Linked DNA regions of Homo sapiens: regions 2 and 3 are each linked to region 1. The links are contacts of gene promoters, found by promoter capture Hi-C in blood cells and fetal thymus (Javierre and others, 2016). All regions are on one chromosome and are shown on one strand. Each heading gives the region's core, a stretch centred on a gene start or on the middle of the fragment in contact. The rest is flanking DNA. Distances are from core to core; before and after follow the strand shown.

Region 1 (4,967 bases), core at 1,551-4,050:
ACCATACATAGAAATAAATTTTTAGATGGATGACAGTAAATTAAAAGTGAAAGGTAATACTTTCAGAGTTTCTGAATAAAATTGCAGCAGACATGTTGGCAGTCTGTTCTGGTCTGAATGTCTCCCAAAATCAATGTGTTGAAACTTAATTAACAATGTGATAGCATTAAGAGGTAGGGCCTTAGCAGGTAATTAAGTCATGAGGACTCATGAATGGGATTAGTGATTTTATAAAAGGGCTGGAGGGAACTAGCTAGGCCTCTTTTGTCCTTCCGCTATTATGCCATGTGAGGACACGGCAACAAGGTGCCATCTTGAAAGCAGAGAGCAGCCCTCACCAGGCACGGAATCTGCCAGCACCTTGATCTTAGATTTCCCAGCCTCCCAGAACTGTGAGAAATAAATTTCTGTTGTTTGTAAGCTACCTATTCTATGGTATTTTGTTATAGCAGCAGAAATGAGCTAATACGTGGTCCAACAAAGACGTGTGCACCTCTTCCAGCGATTGAAACTATTGTTGGGGAGAGGTTGCCTAATTAGTGATGACGTTTCTCAGCCACCTTTGCACCTGAATGGGTCCATGTGACTGAGTTCTGGCCAATGGAATGTGGACTGAAATGGTGTATAACAGTGCTTCTCAAATTATCTGTTGTAATGAACCATTTCCCAAATGGTTCCCCCACTCTATCATGGGGGAAATAATGCATTTTGGCTCACTGCAACCTCTGCCTCCCAGGTTCAAGTGGTTCTCCTGCCCCAGCCTCCCAAGTAGCTGGGATTACAGGCACACGCCACTACGCCTAGCTAATTTTTGTGTTTTTATTAGAGACGGGGTTTCACTATTTTGGTCACGCTGGTCTCGAACTCTTGACCTGGTGATCCACCCACCTCAGCCTCCCAAATTGCTGGGATTACAGGCGTGAGCCACTGCGCCCAGCCAGTTGCAATACCATTTTCATAAAACTCAAAACCAACCACAACTAAAAAATATACCGTTTAAATATACATACATATGTGATAAAATATATACATGAGAAAGAGAAACAAAATTCAAGGTAGTTATTTATTTATTTTTTGAGATTCGGTCTCACTCCGTAGCCCAGGATGGAGTGCAGTGGCACGATCTCGGCTCACCACTGCAACCTCTGTCTCCTGTAACCACCATCTCCCAGGCTCAAATGATCCTCCCACCTCAGCCTCCCGAGTAGCTGGGACTACAGGTGTGCACCACCATGCCCGGCTAATTTTCACCATGTTTCCCAGGCTGGTCTCCAACTCTTGTGCTTAAGCAATCCTCTTGCTTTTGTCTCCCAAAGTGTTGGGATTTCAGGCGTGAGCCACCGTGCCCAACCAGTAGCTGTGATTAAAGTAGGGTACAGTCAAAGGAATAGGTCAGAGGAGGAAATCGCAGATTGATGTGAAGGCGTTGGTAATGTTCTGGTTCCTACACAGGTGAAAGGTGTACAGGTGTTTAACTGCTATGCTTTTTATCTCACACATCGCATAAATTTTTCTGTGACATAAAATATTACATAACATTTAAAAAACAGGTCAAGAGGGCAGGGTGCAGTGGCTCACGTCTGTAATCCCAACACTTTGGGAGGCCGAGGGGAGCGGATCACCTGAGGTTAGCAGTTCGAGACCAGCCTGGCCAACATGGTGAAACCCTGTCTCTACTAAAAATACAAACAAAACAAAACAAAACAAAATCCGGTTGGAGTGGTGCATGCCTGTAATCCCAGCTACTCGGGAGGCTGAGGCAGGAGAATCGCTTGAACTCGGGAGGCGGAAGTTGCAGTGAACCGAGACCGCGCCACTGAACTCCGGCCTGGGCAACAAGAGCGAAACTCCGTCTCAAAACAAAAAACAAACAAATCCAAACAAACAAACAAACAAACAAAAACAGGTCAAGGATCAGAAAAGTAAAGTGAGTTGACACTCCATTTACACACAGAAAGCCCAATGTTTTTCTATTATATCAGGATACCTCTTCTAAAGAATGATAGCTTACCTTTCAATCAGAGAAATGATCTAAAGTTCAAAATGTTACTCCATAGCTAGCTCCTGGAGGAAGGAAGCTAGGTGGCAGCGTGTACACAAAAAGGCAATTCATCCAAATAATAATATAACAAGAATATAACAAGTAGGTATTTTCTGCTAAGTGCTATGTAGCACAGGGGTGAATGCGTGGCAGGGCAGGAGGAGGGCTGTTTACAAGAGGGTATGAAATGCAGCTCTTCTTTTCAAGAGTGGTTGCAGAATGCCAGGGCTACAAAGAGAGGGCCGCACATTAAGCATCGTATTATGTGGGTACAGAGTATTAGGGTTCTCGATGACCAGAAGGAGAATGAGTGCAGTTTGTTTCCTAGCAAGCCTTCTTTAGCTTCTCTTCCCAAGTGGGAGTGGGGTTGGGGTTGGGACTGTTCTTTCCTAGCTCAAAAGTTCACTTATGTCACACTAGGGTCAGTTTAAAGGAGAGTGCTAGTAAGGGTAAAGTCAAGTTACATAACCTAGCGGAAAATGAAGACCTAAAACCGCTCGTGAGCAAACACAACACTTTAGACGTAAACCTCTTCCAAAGAAGGGTGGATCTCAGCACTCTGGGTGAAAGCAATCTCAGCCAGTAAAACATCAGAACGCTTTCACGCACGCGCAGTAAGCACACGACCGGTGGCAAGAGCCCGGATAAAGGCGGAGCTAAAGGTGCCGGATAATGCATCACGGAGCGCGTGTGCGCACGCCGTAGGGGGCGGGCCGTTCGGGCTTGGTTTCCTGGGCGACCACCGCTGGCTAGTCCGTTAGAGGCGTGCGGGCTTCGGAGGCGTGCGGGCTTCGGGTGCCATGGGGACTCCTCCCGGCCTGCAGACCGACTGCGAGGCGCTGCTCAGCCGCTTCCAGGAGACGGACAGTGTACGCTTCGAGGACTTCACGGAGCTCTGGAGAAACATGAAGTTCGGGACTATCTTCTGGTGGGTGTTTCTTGTCCACCACCCGCCTCTCCCTGCCCGCAGGTGGTGTAGAAAGTTGCCTCCTTCCCGGCGATATTGCACTTGTGAAGGGCTGAGAAGAGCGGCAGTCACCGAAGGTTGCCTCCATGACTCCTGGACCTTCCCCTGTGCTCAGGCAACGCGCTTTCCCTGCTCTATTTCATTGTGCCCTGATGGTTGTTGCGGCCTCCTCCCAAATATGCGTCTCTGCCTGGCCTCCCTTCTAAACTCCTCTCTCCCATCTCCACCCTGAGCCAGGCCACTATCATTTGCCCTTCCCCAGTCTTGTTCTAGGACCTGATGTTTAAAAACACACAAGCAAAGACAAAACCCTTCAAGATTGAATTAATTTTTCCTCCAACAACCAAAGTTGTCTTTTTTTTTTTTTTTTTTTTTTTTTTTGAGACGGAGTCTCCTTTTGTCGCCCAGGCTGGAGTGCAATGGCGCGTTCGCGGCTCAGTGCAACCCTTCGCCTCTCAGGTTCAAGTGATTCTCTTGCCTCAACCTCCGGAGTAGCTGGGATTACAGGTGCCCGGCACCACGCCCGGTTAATTTTTTGTATTTTTAGTAGAGACGGGGTTTTACTATGTTGGCCAGACTGGCCTCGAACTCCTGATCTCGTGACCCGCCCGCCTCGGCCTCCCAAAGCGCTAGGATTACAGGAGTGAGCCACCGCGCCCGGCCCAAAAGTTGTTTTTCAAAAGTGCAAATTTGATTATGTCACTCCCCGACTTATTACTCTGTAGTGGTGCCCATTGCCTTTGGGATAACGCTTGAATTCTCTGACTTGCCAAGACCATTCCTCACTGGCCTTTGCCTATCTCTCCAGCTTCGCCTGCCAGTCCCCTCCATGCACTCACTTTCTTGCTCCAGCAGCTGCTTTTTTTTTTTTTTTTTTTTCTTTGGGCCCTCTACAGGCTTTTCCTAATCCTGGAGTTTCCACCGCAACTCTCTTGTTTTGTCCACCTTATTCTTCACTCAGGGTTAAGCTCAAATGACATCCTCGGGGGAAGTCTTTTTTGCTCTTCTAGACTGAGTACGCTGTTCATGTTTTTTCCCCGCATAGCACCCTGTTTTTATTTTATGTCACCGCTTTCCACATTTTGTTGTAATGGTATAGTTGAAAAGGCAGTGTGGGATTGTTAAGGGCATAGGTTATGGAACCCAATTGGCTGCATTTGATTGCAGGGTCCGCTATGACTTGGGGCAAGTTACTTGAGTTTCCATATCTGTAAAATAGAGGCAATGATAAACCTCATAGTAGTTGTGAAGATTAAATGAGCTGATATATCAGAAATACATTCTAAGTGCTCAATAAATGTTCATTATTATTATTTTTTTTTCTTGAGACATAGTCTTGCTCTGTCACCCAGGCTGGAGTGTAATGGTGCGATCTCCTATCACTGCAACCTCCACCTCCCGGGTTCAAGAGATTCTCCTGCCTCAGCCTCCCGAGTAGCTGGGACTACGGCTTGTGCCACCAAGCCTGGCTAATTTTTGTATTTTTAGTAGAGACGGGATTTCACCATGTTGGCCAGGCTGGTCAAATGTTCATTATTACTACCGTTTTAAAATTTTCCTTTGACTAGACTGACCTCTGTGAGGACAGTGACTGGATGAATCTATTTTTATTACCATAGTACATATAATATTAAAAAGGCGAAATAACTGATTTTCTGAATGAGTTAAACCTTATGATTAAAACTTTTTCTGAACAAAATGTAAAAACTCATTTTCTCTCTGTCAGTGTAAGCAAATTACCTTTGTAGTTTTTTAAATTGCAAGGAATGGAGGATGAAGAGCTGTTTGTTGTACAGTTAATAAAAGGAGAGAGACTTTTTTTTTTAAATGGCTACTACATGCCATTTATTTATAGCTTTATTTATTGCATAAGACAGTTATAAAAAGCAGGTATAATTATCCTTGTTTTATAGATGAGGAAATTAAGGCTTAAAGAGGTTAAGTAATTTCTCCACCATT
Region 2 (4,967 bases), core at 739-3,238, 1.8 Mb after region 1:
TTATGAATCTCTCTCTCTTTTTTAAAAAAAGTATTCATATGGAAAAAATAGAAGCTTGAAATATCCTAAGCTAAATTTTGAGGATCTTTTCCGGTTACATTCCAGTTTTTCTTATAATACCTTCTGATTTCACAAACTGTTACAGAAATAAGTCTGCAATAATGAACTAGCAAACCAGGTTGCCTGGTTTCCTCCAAGCCACACTAAAGCTCATTGTGTTGTTCATATCCCCTTTCTCCCATTCTTCAGTATTCAGCACATAAACATCCACCTCAAAGGTAAATTCTGATAGTTTCCACACTATAAAAGCTATGTTCTGATATTTTTCAAACAACACCTGTTCATAAACATGAAGCAAACATGATGAAAATTAAAAGGGACAAAAAGTAACCACATACCCAAACAAAAGTTGAAATGCCTAATTTAGAAAAAATTCTTCATATTAAAAACGTGTTGGGCCGGGCATGGTGGCTCACGCCTAAATCCTGGCATGGGAACACCATGGCAATTCGAGACCAGCCTGTGCAACATGGCAAAACTCCATCTCTACAAAAAAATGGAAAAATTAGCTGGGCGTGATGGCATGCTTCTGTAGTCCCAGCTACTCGGGAAGTTGATCCCGGCTACTCGGGAAAGGGAGGATCACTTGAGCCTAGGAAATAGAGGCCACAGTGAGCCCCAACCTGCACTTTCTTTTTTTTTTTTCCCCCGAGACAGAGTCTTGCTCTGTCACCCAGGCTAGAATGCAATGGCACGATCTGGGCTCACTTCAACCTCTGCCTCCCGGTTCAAGCAATTCTCCTGCCTCGGCTTCCCGAGTAGCTGGGATTACAGGTGCCACCACCGCGCCTAATTTTTGTATTTTTAGAAGAGACAGGGTTTCACCATGTTGGCCAGGCTGGTCTCAAACTCCTGACCTCGTGATCTGCCTGCCTCGGGCTCCCAAAGTGCTGGGATTACAGGCGTGAGCCACCACGCCCGGCCTCAACCTGCACTTTCACTCTGTCCCCACTGAACTCTAGCCAGAGTGACAGCATGAGATTGTCTCAAAAGAAAATTTAAAAAACCAAAAAACTTGTTTTTAACAAATTTCAGGCCAGGCACGGTGGCTCACACCTGTAATCCCAGCACTTTGGGAGGTCAAGGTGGGCAGATCACTTGGGGTCAGGAGTTCAAGACCAGCCTGACCAACATGGTGAAACCCTGTCTCTATTAAAAATACAAAAATTAGCTGGGCATGGTGGCGGGCACCTGTGCTCCCAGCTACTCGGGAAGCTGAGGCAGGAAAATCACTTGAACCCAGGAGGTGGAGGTTGCTGTGAACCAGCCTGAGCAACAGAGGGAGACTCTATCTCAAAAGATAAAAATTAAAATTAAAAAATTAACAAATTTCAAAGAAAAGATCATACTAAACAAGTATGATCATCATACTTGTACATAGAAAGGTATATCTTTTCTACTTGTACTATGTGAAAACAAGAGTGCATGTAAACAACTATAAATGGACCATTTTTTTCTTGATTTTTAAAAACGAATTCTTCCAAATACCATTTTCTATATGTAAATTAATGAATGGTACCATCTCCTCTACTAGGGTCTACTTCCTAAGACCATAATCTGTAGTTGTCATTGTATATAATGTATCCCTAAACGTCAACAGAAGAAAAAATGAAAAACACAAACCCAGACATCTTAAAGTTTCTCTAGTACTTAGTTTACCTACTCATCAATGTGAGATATTCTCCTGATAATGTTTCTTTTAACTTGCCCAAAGACAGACTAAATTGAGCCTTTAAAAAGGAGAGTGGGTATATTTGGTCACACATTAGTAACTTCAATGTATGTGAAGTATCCCATCCCTTCAATTTGCAACACATATAAAACTCTACAAAAAGGAAATTATATATAGATGTAGAAAGATCAATTGAAAAAGAATGCATCACCTGGTCATGAGCCTTACCTTTTAGCAGCGGCAGAGGTGTTAACTCAATAGGCTTGCCTTGAGACCTAAACTGTGAGGAACTTTGCGACCTCTTCTGTCTGGCTTTTCTGACGGACTTCCGAGAAAATCCGTCTACTTTATCCACTGATGGAGGAGTAGTTGGTGCTGAGGACATATCCCTACTGAAGAGAAAGAAGTATCATAAACCCATACATTCCCAAGGTGGAAGCATACATGTGAGTTATACAAATTCTAAAATTCCCATATACAATATTCATGAAAATGGGAATATGTGCTAAAGAAAATAAAATCAGTTAAGAAAAGTCTTATCTTGGCCAGGTGCAATGGCTCACGCCTGTAATCCCAGCACTTTGGGAGGCTGAGATGGGTGGATCACTTGAGGTCAGGAGTTCAAGACCAACCTGGACAACATGGTGAAATTCAGTCTCTACAAAATTACAAAAATTAGCCGGGCATGATGGCAGGTGCTTGTAATCTCAGCTACCCGGGAGGCTGAGGTGAAAGAATCGCTTGAACCTGGGAGGTGGAGGTTGCAGTGGGCCAGGATCCCGCCATTGCACTCCATCCAGCCTGAGTGACAGAGTGAGATTCCGTCCTTTAAAAAAAAAAAAAAAAAGGGCTGGGCCCGGTGGCTCACACCTGTAATCCCAGCACTTTGGGAGGCCGAGGTGGGTGGATCACTTGAGGTCAGGAGTTCGAGACTAGCCTGGCCAACATGGTGAAACCCTGTGTCTACTAAAAATACAAAAATTAGCCAGGCGCAGTGGCATGCACCTGTAATCTCAGCTACTCAAGAGGCTGAGAAGGGAGAACCGCTTGAACCTGGGAGGCGGAGGTTGCGGTGAGCCAAGATGGCACCACTGCACTCCAGCCTGGGCAACAGAGCAAGAGTCCATCTCAAAAAAAAAAAAAAAAAAAGCCAGGCACAGTGGCACACACCCGTAATCCCAAGGCGGGCAGATAACTTCAGGTTGGGAGTTCGAGACCAGCCTGACCAACATGGAGAAACCCCATCTCTAATAAAAAAAAAAAAATACAAAAATTAGCCAGGCATGGTGGCGCATGCCTGTAATCCCAGCTACTCGGGAGGCTGAGGCAGGAGAATCACTTGAACCCGGGAGGCGGAGTTGTGGTGAGCCAAGATCATGCCATTGCACTCCAGCCTGGGCAGCAAGAGGAAAACTCCTTCTCAAAAAAAAAAAAAAGAAACAAACAAAGAAAAGAAAAGTCATATGTTAACAGGAAAACATGAAAATTTAGTGAAAATAATTTAAGTATCACGGAAACAATATGAGAACTCTAATGTATTGTGCCACTCCATTATAAGCATTAAAGATACTCATCTAGGCTTAAAGAAATCTATGCTGCCTGCCCATTTTCTAACTGCAAAGCTCTTCACATCTTCAAGTAATTTTTGGAGCTATTCTGTAACTGGAAAACTTCCATTGATACATTTTCCCAAGATACTTAATATTATGAATGGGTTCTGGAGTTGAAAAACCCTTAGTGTACTTCAAGAATCTATACCAATGTATCACAGCAAGGTGAAATTTACTACTACTGAAACTATCTAGGCATAACTTTTAATGGGATGTGCTATGTTAGCTATGATAAACTATACCACACTGCAAATGAGGACAGGCTAGATTACTTTAAACAAAACACATAAAAGGCATAATTAAAATATTTCAAATAAGTCTTCTTTTTGAATGAAGCCACCTTACGTTATTAACGCTTAATAAAAACTATGAGAAAATCAAGCACCAAAGTTGAACTGAAAACATAAATTCACAGCCTACTGAAACAACCAAGTTGAGTTCCCTTGAGGTTTAGACCTTGAAGTTCATCATCAAATACCAATTTTCATTCCATCAAACTTACGGAACTGAATAGCACTTTTGAATTGTTTAACCCTCTCGAGTTATTAAAATGAAGGCTATTTCCTGAAAGTAACAAGCGTTAAGCTTAATTTCATTCACCAAATTAAACAGATGCCATCATTTCCATGGCACTGAGGCTTCATGCAAGACTAATGGCAGACTCGGATAGAAAGAATGCATATGGGGGAAATGCTGAAATGCAATTACTCACCTGTCATTCCAATAGACAAGACAAGTGGTTTTTAACTTCTAAATAAAACAGTAAGGGAATTTCTTCCTGAACACGTGAGAATAAAAAGTTACCTGGATTACGTGGATTTTGACAATGTAAAAATAACAAAAACATTTTAAAACACATGCACACATATGATGTTGACGTTTGGAATTTGGAAGTCTTCTTTGGTTTTCTTTAAAAAAAAAAAAGTTTTTAAAAATCTACCTAATTTAGCCTTAATATAATGTGATGGATTCAAAATAGAATCACAAACTATGAATGACTATAGATGTTAAGATCACTTTAAAATATCAAAATGACTGCATCAGCCAAAAGCTCCACATCTTATTTGTACGTTGTAAATTTAGGGGCCGATTTTCCATTCGGGTATGTGAATTATTTAGACTTCACTCTAACTCTAACACTACAACATTTCAGTAAATCCTCTTCCTCCATCACTCTTTTCGTCTCTTCTTTATTCCTTATCTCTCATCTCTACAGACGATATATAGGTAGCTTTTAAAAAAATCATTTACCCCTTATGCCCGAGGCCCAGAATAAACGTCAAGGATCGCAACCCTGAAGCACTGCAAAACTGAACGTAAGGTAACAGCGGGTCCGTGCAAAGCCCAGGGAAACAGGTTTCGCCCTGGGCCAGGGCTCCCGAAGCTTTATCATCCTCTAATCAGCAGGCATGGGGCATTTCCATGGCTCAGGATAATCCAAAGGGGGTAAGGGGAAGTAGGGAAAGACAGGGAAGGGGTTTGTCTGTGGGGATGCTTACATACTCCCTTTGCTCCTAACCCACACCCCAAGCCCTGGAGACGATAAGCTGCTAGAGAATCCTCCTCACACCAAACCCCTCTTTATTCCCCGCCCCCGCCAGTGGATAAAGGGGGGCAAGAAAACG
Region 3 (4,967 bases), core at 838-3,337, 1.0 Mb before region 1:
AGGTGGAAAATCCGGTATTTTTTTTACCAGAGGGGGAAAGCAGTCTGCCAGGCAAAAAGCTCAAACCCAGTGGGGTGGGAGCGCCCCCACTCCTTTGCTGCCGCCCGCCGTAAGCCGGCCTGCCCCCCACCCATAACTACCGTACCAGGAGGGAGCCAAGCAGCGTTCGGGGGCCGAGGGAGGAAGCAGCCCTTCAGCCCTGCTACCCCGGCTGCGCTGAAACCCGATCCTAAGGAGTTCAGAATCAGGTTTCAAAACATGACAGAGCCGAGCTGCACCAGCACCCCACGTTGCCGCGGCCGCTAAGGGAACCATAGGGGCAGGGTGAATGATTAACTCTGTCATATGAAACCTCGACGTTCCGAGACCCCTTCTGCGCCGCCAGTCCCACAACACTCTCTTCCCTTCACCAGAGCAGCCACCGCGACCTCCAGCGCAGGCCCGGGGGGCGGCTGAACCCTGGGGATCCGGGAGCGTGCGCGCGCGCCAGGCCCGGTGTGACCTCGCGGAGGTGCAGACCCCGGCCGGCGCCGGCAGTCTCTGCGGGCCTCGGGCGGCAGGGAGAGCTACGGTGCCGGTGTCCACATTTGCTTCGTTAGCCCCTCCAGAAACGGGGAGAGGGTGGCAACTTCAAAGCCAGCGGGATGGGGGTGGGAAGCTGGGCAGCAGTGACCAGCCGAGGTGGGGGCGGGGACTGAGACCTAGGCGGGCGACCAGAAACTTCTGGGGGGAGAGGGGGAGGGTAAGGAGGGAGGTTCCCCCGCCCCCCGCCTCCGCCGCCCCCTACCTCTGCCGGCCGGGGAGCGAGGTAGGGGGCGGGGAGAGGTGGGCAGCCGGACCAGGCTGGTGGGGAAGGTAAGCGCCATGTTTGCGAGCACTTGGAGGAAAAGAAAGCCGGGAAGGGGGTGGGGGAGAGGAAGGGGGAGGAGGAGGAAAGTTGGCGCTCACCTTTTGGACTGGGTCTCGGAGGGGTTCCTGTCGCGCTGCCGGCGGTTCTTGAACCAGTTGCTGACCTGGGTGAGGGAGAGGCCGGTGATCTTGGCCAGGTGCCGCTTCTCGGCGGGCGAAGGGTAGCGATTCTGCTTGTAGAGCTCCTTGAGCGCGTTGCGCGACTTCTCCTTGAAACAATACACCGTCTCCTCGCCGTCCCAGATGGTGCGGGGCAGGGGGAATTTCCTGCGCAGCCGGTACTTGTCTACGGCTCCCAGCGGCCGGCCGCGGGCTCGCTCGGCCTCGGTGTAGCGCGCCTTGTACCAGAGCTGCTGCAGCAGCGGGTGGTTGGCCGACTCGAAGCTGTGGCTCTCGAGGATGCTGTAGAGCTCGGGGTAGATGCCCTGGTGGAAGGCCACGAGCGCCCGCGCCTTCAGCAGGCTCTCGTTGCCACGTAGCAGGTCGCTCTGGGGCAGGGACCACAGGAACCGGGCCAGGCGGTCCAGGTTGCCCCCCTGCTGCAGTGCCTCGCACACGCAGGCGACGTGGTCGGGCGAGAAGGCCAGCGGGGTCTGCGCGGCGGCGGCGGCGGCGTGGTGGTGCCTGCCCAGAAGTTCCGAGTGGAGTTGTACCTGATCCGCCGCCGCTCCGGCCGCCGCCGCCGCCACTGCCCCTTCCTCTCCGCTCACCCTGGCGGCAGCGGTCGCGGCGTCCCCCGGCTCCAGGGGAAAAGGGGCTGGAGCCGGGGGGCTCAGCCCTACCGCCGCGCCCCCCGCCACTTCTCGGTGCGCCTCCTGCCCTTCCGAGGCGCTTTCCATCCCATTCTCTTGCTTGATGTCCGCCGCACTTGCGATCTGCCCGGTGGGGGAGGAAGAGGACATTTTTTGTTGTTTATTTTCCTCCCTCCCTCACTCCCTCGCACTCTTTTCCTCTTTCTTTCCTCCTCTCTTACTCCTCCTCCTTCGTCTCCCTCCCTCCTCTCCCCCTCCGGAAAGCCCACTCCCTCCCTCCTGGTTTCGGCTGTATCTGGCCGATCAGGTTTCCCCCCGGCCACGCAGTCACCATTAAGATAGCTGTTAGAGCAAAGTAGTGTAAACGGATAGCTGCTTTCTGCCGTTCCCCCAACGTGACTCCTCCGGTTGCTGCATACTATATGGCAGTGGCGGCCGGGCCGGCCCGGCCTAGCCACCTCATTGGCTATTTCGCATTCAGAGGGAGGAGGAGACACAGTTTCTATCCCTGTCGATCACCCGCCTCCCACTCCACCCCTCGCCTTTCCCTCCCCTCCTGACCCCCAGGCACCTATACCTGAAGGAAAACACCGACATTCTTTCCAAGCCACGCTCCTGGGCGGGAAATTACCTAATGTGGCCTGAAAACTGGACAACTCTTTCAAACAGAGGCCCTACAATTCCAGAGGGAATATTAATTGTGTGGCCTTAAGGTCTGGATGGTTAAATTTTTAACAAAGAGACCACCCTCAGCATCTAGATGACAAAACTTCAGAGGACAATTCAGAAGCCCCCCAGTATGTCCCTGTTCCCCATTCTCCCTCTTTTTGGATGTCTTTATCAAGGATTTTGTATTCAAAACGGTCAAAAATAAAATGACACTAGGAAATGTTCTAAGGGGCAAGCATTTACAGTAAATTAAAATTCCAAAGAGGGAAAAATGCTTGAAAACCTTATAATTAGCAGCATAAATAGCACACTGAGAAGACAAAAACAAGAAGCCTTCAAAAAATGTACTTAACCTTAAGCCACGTGGAGGGCTGGCAACCCAACTGAGTTGAACATGGTATAATTAAACATGTAGAATATTAAACCATAAGTTTATCCTGGATGAGTCGTGTGGAAGAGATCTAAGCTTTAAATATGGAAATTTAAGTTTTCTACATGAACTTTTTAATGTAAGTATATGAGTATTTCTTTTTTAACGATGATAGGCTAGAAACACTGAATGTGCGGGTGTCATCCAGATCAGTGCAGGATCAGAAGCCCTTTTCCACAGCATAGACAGATTGCCCTCTGGTTTGATGCTGAAGTGGGGGTAGAGTCTTTTGTTGTTTGCAGTTGTGTCTCTTTCCTTTGTAATTTGCACAAGATCTTAATTCCAAAAGGGATGATCCATTTCTGCTTCTTTGATTACTGTAGGTCAGTTGGGTTTGCCTGCTGCTGCTCTTTCTCAAAATTCAACTTTTTTTCCCCCCGAGATGGAGTCTCGCTCTGTCGCCCAGGCTGGAGTGCAGTGGTGTGATCTCGGCTCACTGCAAGCTCCGCCTCCTGGGTTCACGCCATTCTCCTGCCTCAGCCTCCCGAGTAGCTGGGACTACAGGCGCCCGCCACCACGCCCAGCTAATTTTTTTTTTTTTTTTTTTTTTGTATTTTTTAGTAGAGACGGGGTTTCACCACGTTAGCCAGGATGGTCTCGATCTCCTGACCTCGTGATCCGTCCGCCTCGGCCTCTCAAAATTCAACATTTTAATGACATCATCCTAACCTTTGCTTCAGGGTGGCCTTGTATTGTGTATGCTTCCCAGCTACTCATAGCTGCCTACTTCAGCATATTACAAAGCAGCTGTCTAGGTCACCTGCCGTCATGATAAACTTGGTGAGATTTTCTTTTTTTTTGTAGACAGGCTTTATTTTATTGCTGGTCAATCAAGATGTCATTTGATGTAGGATTTAACTTGTTTTTGCATTACCCTAATGTGTTGACATCGCTGGTAGATTTAAAATTTATAACAACAGAAAAGGCCATATTATTTATTTGCTTATTTATTTATTTATTTATTTATTTATTTTTTGAGATGGAGTCTCACTCTGTTGCCCGGGCTGGAGTGCAGTGGCGTGATCTTGGCTCACTGCAACCTCTGCCTCCCGGGTTCAAGCGATTCTCCTGCCTCAGTCTCCTGAGTAGCTGGCACTACAGGCGCGTGCCACCATGCCCGACTAATTTTTTATATTTTTAGTAGAGATGGGGTTTCATCGTGTTAGCCAGGATGGTCTCGATCTCCTGACCTCGTGATCCGCCCGCCTCGATCTCCCAAAGTGCTGGGATTACAGGCGTGAGCCACCGCGCCCGGCCAAGACCATGTGTTTCTACTCCACTGGAAACATCCAGTTAGGTACCAAGCTTCAGGACAATAACTGAGATTCAGAACTTCCTTGAATTTTTGTTTGCTTGTTTGTTTTTGTTTGAGACAGGGTCTCTCTCTGATGCCCAGGCTGAAGTGCAGTGGCATGATCTCAGCTCACTGCAACCTGCCCCTCCTGGTTTCAAGTGATTCTCCTGCATCAGCCTCCCGAGTAGCTGGGATTACAGGCACCTGCCAACCACACCCAGCTAATTTTTGTATTTTTAGTAGAGATGGGGTTTCACCATGTTGGCCAGGCTGGTCTTAAATTCCTGACCTCAAGTGATCCGCCCACCTCAGTCTCCCAGAGTGCTGGGATTAGAGGCATGAGCCACCACACCTGGCCAAATTTTTTTAAAAATATATTTTTTATTTGGAATGCTTTTCATTTACAGAAAAGTTACCAAAATAGTAGAGTTTCCACTTACCTTTCACCTAGTTCCCTTTAATTTTAACATCTTACATGATAATGCTATATTTATCTAAACAAATTAACATTGGCGCATTTCTATTAACTAACCTCTAGACTTTATTTGGATTTCACCAGTTTTTTTTTTCATTAATGTCTGTTTTCTGTCCTATGATCCAATCCAGGAGACCATGTTGCATTTAATTCCTTGAAATTTTAAAGCACATTTCTCAGAACAAAGTAGACAGGATATGGTGTGGTTTAGTGGAAAGGATGTGGATTTGAGGATCAGATAGCTAGACACAGGTTTAATCCTAGCTCTTCCATTTATTAGCTACTTGACTATAAAAAGTCGACTAAGTTGTTGTGAGGATTAAATGAGATAAGATGTGCCAGAAAGCACCTGGTGAGTAATTAATCCTTGGTAAATGTTTGTTATCTTCTTCCTGATATTGCAAAGTAGGAGACTTTTTAGTTGTATATACCTAGTGA

The links. Contacts are between HindIII fragments. The CHiCAGO score rates a contact against its expected background, and 5 or more counts as called.
Region 2: a contact is called between a fragment that was not itself captured here and the fragment with the promoter of SNAPC1 in region 1, in 1 of 17 cell types (neutrophils). The highest score is 6.6, in neutrophils.
Region 3: the fragment with the promoter of SIX4 here is called in contact with the fragment with the promoter of SNAPC1 in region 1 in 1 of 17 cell types (naive CD8 T cells); the score reaches 6.6 in naive CD8 T cells.

The regions. Positions count from the first base shown.
Region 1 is chr14:61,759,620-61,764,586 of GRCh38, forward strand. It overlaps SNAPC1 (small nuclear RNA activating complex polypeptide 1), which reads left to right and starts at 2,801. Exons shown (of 10, transcript NM_003082.4): 1 at 2,801-2,969. The coding sequence starts at 2,842. RefSeq lists enhancers at 795-1,539, 1,540-2,283, 2,127-2,216, 2,284-3,027, 3,028-3,771. The HindIII fragment of the contact is 7,963 bases long and covers 1-4,967 here.
Region 2 is chr14:63,537,569-63,542,535 of GRCh38, forward strand. It overlaps PPP2R5E (protein phosphatase 2 regulatory subunit B'epsilon), which reads right to left. Exons shown (of 14, transcript NM_006246.5): 2 at 1,961-2,124. The coding sequence starts at 2,117. Among named protein-coding and RNA genes, the nearest start is that of PPP2R5E, 3.3 kb to the right of the region's middle. The HindIII fragment of the contact is 3,873 bases long and covers 53-3,925 here.
Region 3 is chr14:60,722,264-60,727,230 of GRCh38, forward strand. SIX4 (SIX homeobox 4) reads right to left here and starts at 2,088. Exons shown (of 3, transcript NM_017420.5): 1 at 949-2,088. The coding sequence starts at 1,811. RefSeq lists silencers at 153-222, 1,501-1,570. The HindIII fragment of the contact is 4,809 bases long and covers 1-2,794 here.